Regions from separate parts of the Homo sapiens genome. Here region 2 is linked to region 1. The links are contacts of gene promoters, found by promoter capture Hi-C in human tissues and cell types (Jung and others, 2019). All regions are on one chromosome and are shown on one strand. The core of a region is centred on a gene start or on the middle of the fragment in contact, and the rest is flanking DNA. Distances in the headings are between cores, read along the strand shown. Region 1 holds the start of C9orf163 (chromosome 9 putative open reading frame 163). Region 2 holds the start of NSMF (NMDA receptor synaptonuclear signaling and neuronal migration factor).

Region 1 (4,528 bases), core at 1,087-3,586:
ACGCAAAGGCAGCGGGTTTCCTGGCACAGCCTGGAGGTGCACCAGCCTGTCCTGTGTGCTCTGCATAATGTGGTACAGCAGTGGTCACAGAGCTTTGCACCAGATGCTGATTCCAGCCCACCTAGGGGGGTTCAGGGAAGTGGTGACACTTGTGTCCAGCCTCCAGGTGTGAGCAGGGGCAGAGACTTGGAGAATGGAGAAACCAGCGGATGCTGCAGGCAAAAGCAGCAAAGCCCCACCAGGAATAGTGATGGCCACCACCGGCGGGACACCTCCCAGCACTGGGTGGAGGCCTCTGCTGGCTCGCAGTCAGTCACCTGATGTCCCCATTCGCCCCTGCCATGCTTGTTGTCCTGGCAACCCCATTTCAGCCCTGAAACGTTTAGGTGCTCATCTTGCTCTATCTTAGAGATGAAGACCTGATGCTCAGAGACTAAGGAAGTTGAAAAAGGGCACACAGCGTCTCAGGGGCAGGCTGGGCCTTCAACGGAAGGGTCTATGGCCCAGAGGCTGGATGGGCTCGGGTGTAGGGTGCAGGAACCCTCCACTCCACATCAGGCTACAAACTGCTGAGAGCTGTCTCCGTGCACTCAGGATTAGGGAGAAGAGGGGGAAGAAAGACAGCCGCGCCCCCTGCAGGTGATGTGGTGATTCACACCCCTAGGAGCCAACAGAAGCCGCTGTCTAACATCCCTGCCCTGAGGTCCAGAGACCTTGCATTTTATGCCTAGGGCAGGGTTGGTTTCTGCAGCTATGGTCTCTCCCATAGCTTAGTGCCCACCCCGGTGGGACCACAGGGTTTCGGAGGACCCTAGAGGGTCGAGCCCTGGGCTCCTGGCTCTTGGGTTCTTTGAACTCGCGAGCGGCAAAAGGCGAGCCCCACGCCTGAGAGGCAGCATCCACCTCTGCATCCCCCTCTTTGGAAAGGGCAAACAATGACACCTCCTTCCGCGGAGGGTGCAGAGCGCCTCGACCACTGGGAAGAAGCAGATGGGGGCAGCGGGGCTGGGGCTGGGCCCTACCACGTGCTCCCTAACTCTGTTCAAACAGGTCAGGAATCTGACTCCTGAAAGGCAAATGTTAGCTGAGCAGATTGGCCCTGGTGCCACGTCAGCCGGACTGAAGCTCTCCCTGCACCGCCTGCGGCCCTGCTGGCGTGGCACGGATATCACCCCCTCCCTCACCAGCCGCCGGCCCAGCTGGGGACAAGGGTGGCTCCCACCCAGGGAGGACCTCAGCCGCTGCTGGGAGCTCAGCCTCCCGCGATGCCATCGGGCGGGCACCCCCACCACGGCGCCTGCCCTCTGGAAGGAGCAGCAGAGGAAGGCCGCGGCTCTTCCCTGCCCTTGCCAGGCAGGTGTGCAGGTGAGTGGGCCCGGCATGGCTGGCCGCTTCCTCAACCGCTCAGCCTCCCTCGGCTCCTCCGAAAAATGAGGGCACAGAGGATAGTGCCCACCTGTTCCCTGCGATCTTCCGCGGGAGGGCGTGGATGCTGCCTGGCCTGGCCGTGGCAGGCACAGGAGCGCCTACCCGCCTCACCCCTCCGCTGGGTCGCTCTGGCCGCCCGAGCGCCCGGGCCCACTCGCCACCGACGTGCACTCAGCCAAGGCTGGGACCCCAGCGCCCCTGTGGGGCTGGCGGCCGGGGGAACGAACCGAGTAGGCCGCACCTCCCCGGGAGGACAGCAGGGCTGGGGCCAGGGTGGGCCTGGGAGGGCCCGGCGCAGCAAAGGCGCAGGGCGGAGCTTGGGGACGAGGAGCCCGCGCGTCCCCCTTGCGAGTCGGCGGACACCCGGCTCCGCGCGGTGGCCGGGCCGCCCCTCCCTGCCCGGGCCTCTGTGCAGAGCGAAGGGACAGTAGAGGATGCGTCGGGGAAACCCCAGGACGCTGGCCAGGGACTGGCGGCAGCCATCGACCAACTTCCGGCGCCGCTCGGTGCCCGCGGCCACGCCGTAACCAGGCAACCAGCGCGCAGGCGCAGTCGGCCCTCCGCGTCCCGCAGCTCCGGCCGCTCCCGGCGCATGCGCGGCCGCCGCCGCCTGCCCTCCAGCCTCCCAGCCCAACGGAAGAATGCGAGGAGCGCGCCCGCGTCAGGGCCCCGCGCTTCTCAGCTGGGCGGAGTAGCCGTTCTCGGTGCGTGAGCCTGCTGGCATCGGTCCTGCAGACTGATTTCCCGCTTGTGGCCTTGATTGAAGAATCCCATCTCTTCTCACATCTTAAAACGAAAAAAGACTGGGAGAAAGAGCCAGCGTAAACAGGGCGACGTACTGGGACGGCCCCGGCGCGCCTGGCCGGGCAGGTGGCGAGGGGCGGGGCCAAGCGGTGAGGCGGCAGACGGACGCCGGAGGGGGGCGGGGCCACGGGCGGGGAAGGACGGCCGAGGGGCGGGGCCAAAGGGGCGGGAACGACAGGATGAGGCGGAGAAAGACGGACGACGGGCGGGGCTAAGGGGGCGGGACGAAAGAATGAGGCGAGGAACGACGGAAGAGGGGCGGGGCCAAGGGGAGCGGGAACTACAGGATAAGGCGTGGAAGACGGGCGGGGGGCGGGACGAAAGAATGAGGCGGGGAAGAACGGACGCCGGCGAGGGGCGGGGGCAGAGGGGGCGGGACAGAGGGATGAGGCGGGGAGGACGGACGCCGGCGAGGGGCGGGGCCGAGGGATGGGCTGTGAAGGGCTGAAAGAGAACGCGTCTGGGCCGACGAGCCGAGGGGCGGGGCCAGGGGCGGGGCGCGCGCTGATGTCGTAAGCCGGACACGTCGGCGGCGCGGCGGCCGCGGAGACCCGAGCCGGATGTGCCAAGATGGCTGCGGCGGCTGAGGTGTCTGTGCTCGTCGCCAGCGTCGGGTGGGCTTTCGCCCGCGGCTCCTGAGGGATCGGTCTCAGCCGCGCGGGTGAGGGGGCGAGCGCGGGTGAGGGGGCGAGCGCGGGAGGAGGAAGGCGGAGGCCGGCCGGCGGAGCCAGGCCGTGGAGGTCGGGGCGCGGAGGAGAGGAGGCGGCTGGGCCCAGCCCCGAGCGGGCGGTGCATCTCGGGTCCCGCCGGGGCCGGTCGAGGGGACAGACGTCCGGGCCCCCGGGCCAGAGCGGAAGGCCGGACGCGGCGCGGGCCGCCGTGGGACTCGAGGGACTGACGTGGACCCGGCTGGGCTGCGGTGACGCCGGTTCCCGGGGCGGGAGGCTGGACCCCCAGGCACCCCTCGTAAGACTCTTAACTTTTCAAATGAGCGTGTCTTGTCCTCACCGGCTAGAAGGCTTCCTTAGCGATGCTGGTGAAGAGACACATTTACATTTGAACCAAAGAGCAGAGTTGTTTGTTTGTAATTTCTTGATTGGGCGATCAGGATGTTGCAACAGAGGCCGAGGGTTAGAGGAGTGTGTGTGATCCGGCTCGCCCCTTTGTGATGGAAGTGTTACAGTAGAGCCTTCAGAAACATCAGAGCCATTTAAAGTCAGTTTTTGCCGCTTAAGAACACTTTTAAATGGCTTGTAAGTTGGGTGTGGATTGTATATTAAGATTTTGTTTTACATGTGTGATGCCGATGTTAACCAAAGAGGTATTTCCCATCCCCCATGTGGCAATACGAAGCAAACGGAACCGCAGACGGTTCTTCCTAGAAGTGATACTTTTGCAAGTTTCAGCACAATGCAGCCTCCCTGCGTTTTTTCCTCATCCCCTTTCTTAAGTTTCAGGTGCTGGTATCTTGTAGACAAGAGGCAAAATAGCGTGTCTTTCTTGTTCCTTGTTCCTCGTTTACTGTTAATAGTGGTTACTACAGTGAGTCTCAAAATTGTACTTAAAGTTTTCTTTGAGGCAGTGGGCACTTTTTTTTTCTTTTTCTTTGTCTTTTTTTGCCAAATCCAGCAAGAGGTCATGGTAGTGGGTAAATGTTAATGTGATTTCTTCTTCTGTAAGCATCTTTCATGAATACCAGGGTCTTCGTCATTTTCATCAGTGTTAGGCTGCTGGCCTCCTCTGTCGCTGGCTTCCTCTTCAACATCTAACTGTATGTGGTTGCGATTCTAACTTAGAAGAGTTGGAGTTGATCATGTCTTTGTGTCAAGCATCCCACAGTCTGACAGGGCGTCACTAGCAGCCACCGTGAGGGAGACTGTAGGCAGTAGGTAAACTCAGGGGCTTCCTGGCACACTATTGTTTTCCTCACTTAAAATATGAAGCCAGTGGCAGCAAGAGGAGAGGGGTGTGCATGCATTTTAAATGCCTCAGTTCTGTAGCCAGAACTGTACTAAAAAGAGTTTTGCTTAGGTATCCACATGGTTACAAGGCAGTTTAACTGACTAGCTAGGTTTATGAATACTGCATTTTCAAGATCAGCTGGCCTCTTTGGAACAATAAAAGAATTAGATGACTTGAGGTTACAGAATAAAATTCCCTGGGCCGGGCGCGGTGGCTCATGCCTGTAATCCCAGCACTCTGGGAGGCTGAGGCGGGCGGATCACGAGGTCAGGAGATCGAGACCATCCTGGCTAACACGGTGAAACCCCGTCTCTACTGAAAATACAAAAAAAAA
Region 2 (4,528 bases), core at 568-3,067, 980 kb before region 1:
CTTGGGCCTTCAGCCAGTGGCCTCCTCACAGCAGAACTGGACATTCTCCTGGGAGACGTCTTCATGGCTGCCGCAGGCCGAGAGGGCCCTGGGCAAGGCAGCCCCTATCCACAGTTGCCAGGTCTGGGGTGCTGGAGCCCTCAGGGTGCTTGGCTGACAAGGGGAGGAGTGTCTGCCCGCTCCTTGTCCTTGTGGAAGACCCACGAAGTGATGTGCTGGGGCAAAGCTGGAGCCAGACAGAACCAGGGGTGGTGTGCAGGGCTGCCCTGGGACCAGGTGGCTGCGTGTAGGGCCCCGGGCCACCTTGGAGGCGGGGGTGGGCATCTGTGGCCGGTTCTGCCTCTGAGTGTGGCTATGCTGGGTACGGTCCCTTCCTTGGGAGGGGACTGACGCAGCCCTACCCTCGGTGCCAGACGAATCTGACTACCAGACGGAGTACGAGGAGGAGCTGCTGGACGTCCCCAGGGATGCATACGCAGACTTCCAGAGCACCTCAGCCCAGCAGGGCTCAGACTTGGTGAGGAGCTGGGCATGGTCCCACCTGGTGCCCACAGCTGAGCCTTGGTGCCTGGCCCTGTGCCGGCCACTCCCTCCCTGTGGTCCCACCGGGTTACCAGCGCTGCAGAGCCCCTGCCCTGCCTGGTCCTCACCTGGAACATGCGGTCTGCTTGCAGGAGGACGAGTCCTCACTGCGGCATCGACACCCCAGTCTGGCTTTCCCAAAACTGTCTGAGGGCTCCTCTGACCAGGACGGGTAGAGGCCTCTGCTAAAGAGCCCGGATGCAGCGTCTTCCGTGGGACTGTCCCCAAGGCTGAGGCTCCTGCCAAGTCCTAGGGGCCTCTGTACCTGCCCTGCTGGAAGCCCTGACTTCCCCGGGGCCCCAGGCTGTGTTAGGGTTCTCTGGGCCTCTTCTTTGTACCAGCAGCCCTGCATACAGGGCCCTGTGAGCCCCCCTGCAGTCCTGTGAGGCCCCTGAAGCTCTGTGAGGCCCCTGAAGCTCTGTGAACCCCCTGCAGCCCTGTGAGGCCCCCCGAAGCCCTGTGAGGCCCCCCGAAGCCCTGTGAACCACCTGCTGCCCTGTGAGGCCCCCAAAGCCCTGTGAACTGCCTGCTGTCCTGTGAACTGCCTGCTGCCCTGTGAGGTGTGGGAGCCCTGATGCTGCCGTGTGATGTTTCAATAAAGGTGGATCTCACTGTTGGACGTGTCTCCCGGGCCGAGGTCCCTGTGGCAAAGAAACACTACTGGTTCTCCCTGATGCGGGTGGTCCCTGAGGCTGGGCAGTCCCCAGTCCTCCTCAAAGGACCCCACTGCTGGGGCCTGAGAGCCCTAGGGCGGCAAATGCAGGCCAGGCAGGTAGGGCGTCCAGAGTCTGCATAGAGCTGTGGCCCCCCAGGACCAGGACGGGCCCCTCTGTCTCTCTCTGGCCTCGTGCAAACTGGGTGCCCCCTAAACTGGCTTCCCCTTCGGTTTCCAGTTCCCAAACTGCACAGGGAGCCCTTTTGTGTAAGGGGAGGGAGAACCGGCCTCCCTGTGATCCTGCAGGTCTGAGCAGCAGATCGTGAGGGCCGAGGGCCCAGGACTTTGCGACCAGGGGGCCGCTGGCCTCAGTTTCCCCGCTCTGGAGGCCTGGACGAGAGGGCGCGGAGCCAGGCCGCCCGGCCCCGCCCCCAACTCAACCCGGGCCCGGACGTCACGGTGGGCGGGGCCACATGTCCTCTCCGAGCTCTCCGGGGCCCTGACGTCACGGTAGGTGGGGCCGACCGCCCCTCTGGGCCCGCCCGGGCCCTGACGTCACGATGGGCGGGGCCGGCCCTCGGTTCGGGCAGCGCTCTCCCGGGAGCGGCGGCACGCGCGGAGCGCCGGGTGCGGCCATGCGGGGACCGGGCCCGACCCCGAGCCCGACCCCGAGCCCAAGCCCGAGCCGGAGCCCGAGCGAGACCCCGAGCCCGAGCCCGAGCGCGACCCCCGGTGCGGCGCGGCTACCCCGGCGGAGGCGGCGGGCGCGGGGCGCGCTCTGAGGCCCGGGGGATGCGCCGCCGCCTCGACCATGGGCGCCGCCGCCTCCAGGAGGAGGGCGCTGAGGAGCGAGGCCATGTCCTCGGTGGCGGCCAAAGTGCGGTGAGTGCGGCGGGGCCGCCTTCCCGCACCCCGCCCTGGACCTCCGACCCCGCCCGAGTCCGCCCCTGCCCCGCGGTGCTCCCCGGGCTCCCGGGCCCCGGCCTCTGCCACTGAGGCGCCCTCCCCGCGCCCCGCGCCTCCCTCTTCCTGGTCCCCTGCCCTGCTCTTCCCTCCCCTCCCCTCGCGAGCGCGTGGTGGGCGAGCGCACCCCCCAGGTCGGGAGTGGCCTCGGTTCCCCCGGGGAACAGCAGCCGACCGGCCTCGCGACCCCTCTCCACGGTCCGACGGGCAGGGGCCGGGCCTGCAGGCCTGGCCAGGGCGCACCAGGACCAAGGGTGTGTGGGCTCCCGGAGGGGGACGACCCCGACCCTCCTTCCAGACGCCGAGGGCCTGGCTGGGGACCGGACCCCCGGCTCTTGCGCGGCCCGGTGTTTGGGAGGGTCGTGCCGTGGCCTCTGACCGTGCCCTCTGTCCACCCTCAGAGCAGCCCGAGCGTTTGGAGAGTACCTGTCCCAGAGTCACCCTGAGAACCGCAACGGCGCAGGTAGGGGCACGCGAGGCCGTGCCAGGGCCGCCCAGACCCCCCAGCCCAAGGGATGCTGATCCCTGCCTCCGGGGGTGGAGCGTGAGGGGCATTGGTTGCGCGTGGGCCCGGCGCCCTGCCGGCCTGGCTTCCTTACATCCCCTGCCCTCCCTGCCCGAGCCCCAGGAGCAGTTCCCAGCCGCTCGTCACCATGGCACCCACCCCGCCTGGGCCGTTGGCATGGCAACAGGCCTCCTGGCTCCCCCAGGGCTGGCACCACTGCCTCTGGGGGCCAGCTGGTGGGGGGAGGGGGAAGTTGGCACCAGGCAAACGGTGCGATCGCAGGCTGGGGGATGGCCTGCGTGTTCCTACCCGGCAGGACCGCACACAGGTAGCACAGCGTCACCCAGCCCCCACGCACATGCTAGAGCTTCAGGCCCAGATAGGAGTGAGGGGCTCAGAAACACGCCAGTGACTAGGGTTTGGGCAGCCCTAGTCCCCCACAGAGGCCAGGTGCCCACTGGGTGTTCTCTGCCTTCGGCCTGCTATGAAACCGGCAGCGGGGGGCCCACACGCGGCAGGCAGGCTCACTCAGTGTCTCTCCTAGATCACCTGCTGGCTGATGCCTACTCTGGCCACGACGGGTCCCCCGAGATGCAGCCGGCCCCCCAGAACAAGCGCCGCCTGTCCCTCGTCTCCAACGGCTGCTACGAGGGCAGCCTCTCAGAGGAGCCCAGCATTAGGAAGCCCGCAGGCGAGGGCCCTCAGCCTCGAGTGTACACCATCTCTGGGGAGCCTGCCCTGCTGCCCAGCCCTGAGGCGGAGGCCATTGAGCTGGCGGTGGTGAAGGGGCGGCGGCAGCGGCACCCTCACCATCACAGCCAGCCCCTGCGCGCCAGCCCTGGTGGCAGCCGGGAGGACGTCAGCAGGCCCTGCCAGAGCTGGGCGGGCAGCCGCCAGGGCTCCAAGGAGTGCCCCGGATGTGCCCAGCTGGCTCCTGGCCCCACCCCTCGGGCCTTTGGGCTGGACCAGCCACCTCTGCCTGAGACCTCCGGTCGCCGCAAGAAGCTGGAGAGGATGTACAGCGTTGACCGTGTGTCTGGTGAGGGGTTTGTGTCAGGGCATAGACAGGTTTGGGGGTGCATGCCGCTGCCAGGGTCTGACAGCAGCAGCCACTGTGAGGCTTGGAACAGAGAACAGGTGCTCAGGTCACAGCATGCCAGCGGACTCAAGATTAAAACCGGCAGGCTTCTGCTGCGGCCTCCACACCCTATGAGCTGTGAGCTCCCTCAGCTCCTCAGCAAAATCTGCCAGGCCTCACAGTCCGCTTTCGCCCTGCTAGCACCAGGTCAATCAAGGAGTGCTTCCTGGAGGAGGGGGCCTGGGAGGATCTTAAGGGATATGTAGGGAGGAAGCACCGCTTAATCAGGAGACTGGGCTGCCCTCCGAGAGTCCTGGGGAGCTGTTGGGGCCCAGCCAGGCAGTGGGCATCTTTCCCCAGGGTTGTTGAGTTGTGTGGTAGCTTGTCCACCAGGCAGAAAGTCACTCCACTGTCCCCACACTTGGGCATCAGGGAAAGGCTGTGGGGGCCCTCGGAAGGGGACAGCCCTCAGCAAGGTGGTCTCTAGCCTCGGTGAGGGCCTCCAGCTAGAGCATGGGGGCTGCAGAGAAGGCCTCAGAGCCTCTTCTGCCCAAGGGAAACAGACGCATTGTTTTCCTGGGCCTCCTGGAGACAGACTGTGCTTTCAAAGGAATGTTTCTCAAACTTTGGGTGGCCAAAGGGAAAGTTAAGCCAAAAAAATCAAAGCGTCAAGTTACCAAGAGCGTGGTCTTGGTGAGTGAGCAGCAGACATTCGAGCACTGCCCTCTGTGCCCGTGTGGGGATG

What was found. The method cuts DNA at HindIII sites, captures the fragments that hold promoters and counts their contacts. A contact is called where the count stands out against the background at its distance.
Region 2: a contact is called between the fragment with the promoter of NSMF here and the fragment with the promoter of C9orf163 in region 1, in 1 of the 25 tissues and cell types used here (dorsolateral prefrontal cortex).

Annotation. Positions count from the first base shown.
Region 1 is chr9:136,481,303-136,485,830 of GRCh38, reverse strand. C9orf163 (chromosome 9 putative open reading frame 163) reads right to left here and starts at 2,336. Exons shown (of 1, transcript NR_172629.1): 1 at 1-2,336. SEC16A (SEC16 homolog A, endoplasmic reticulum export factor) reads left to right here and starts at 2,791. Exons shown (of 32, transcript NM_014866.2): 1 at 2,791-2,893. RefSeq lists silencers at 1,679-2,108, 2,259-2,438, 2,509-2,618, 2,849-3,168 and enhancers at 1,408-2,152, 2,898-3,643. The HindIII fragment of the contact is 5,654 bases long and covers 2,026-4,528 here.
Region 2 is chr9:137,456,623-137,461,150 of GRCh38, reverse strand. It overlaps NSMF (NMDA receptor synaptonuclear signaling and neuronal migration factor), which reads left to right and starts at 1,817. Exons shown (of 16, transcript NM_001130969.3): 1 at 1,817-2,119; 2 at 2,602-2,663; 3 at 3,250-3,744. The coding sequence starts at 2,049. PNPLA7 (patatin like domain 7, lysophospholipase) reads left to right here. Exons shown (of 35, transcript NM_001098537.3): 34 at 414-517; 35 at 675-1,199. The coding sequence ends at 758. RefSeq lists enhancers at 1-112, 2,936-3,633 and silencers at 1,587-1,936, 2,027-2,296. The HindIII fragment of the contact is 38,119 bases long and covers 1-4,528 here.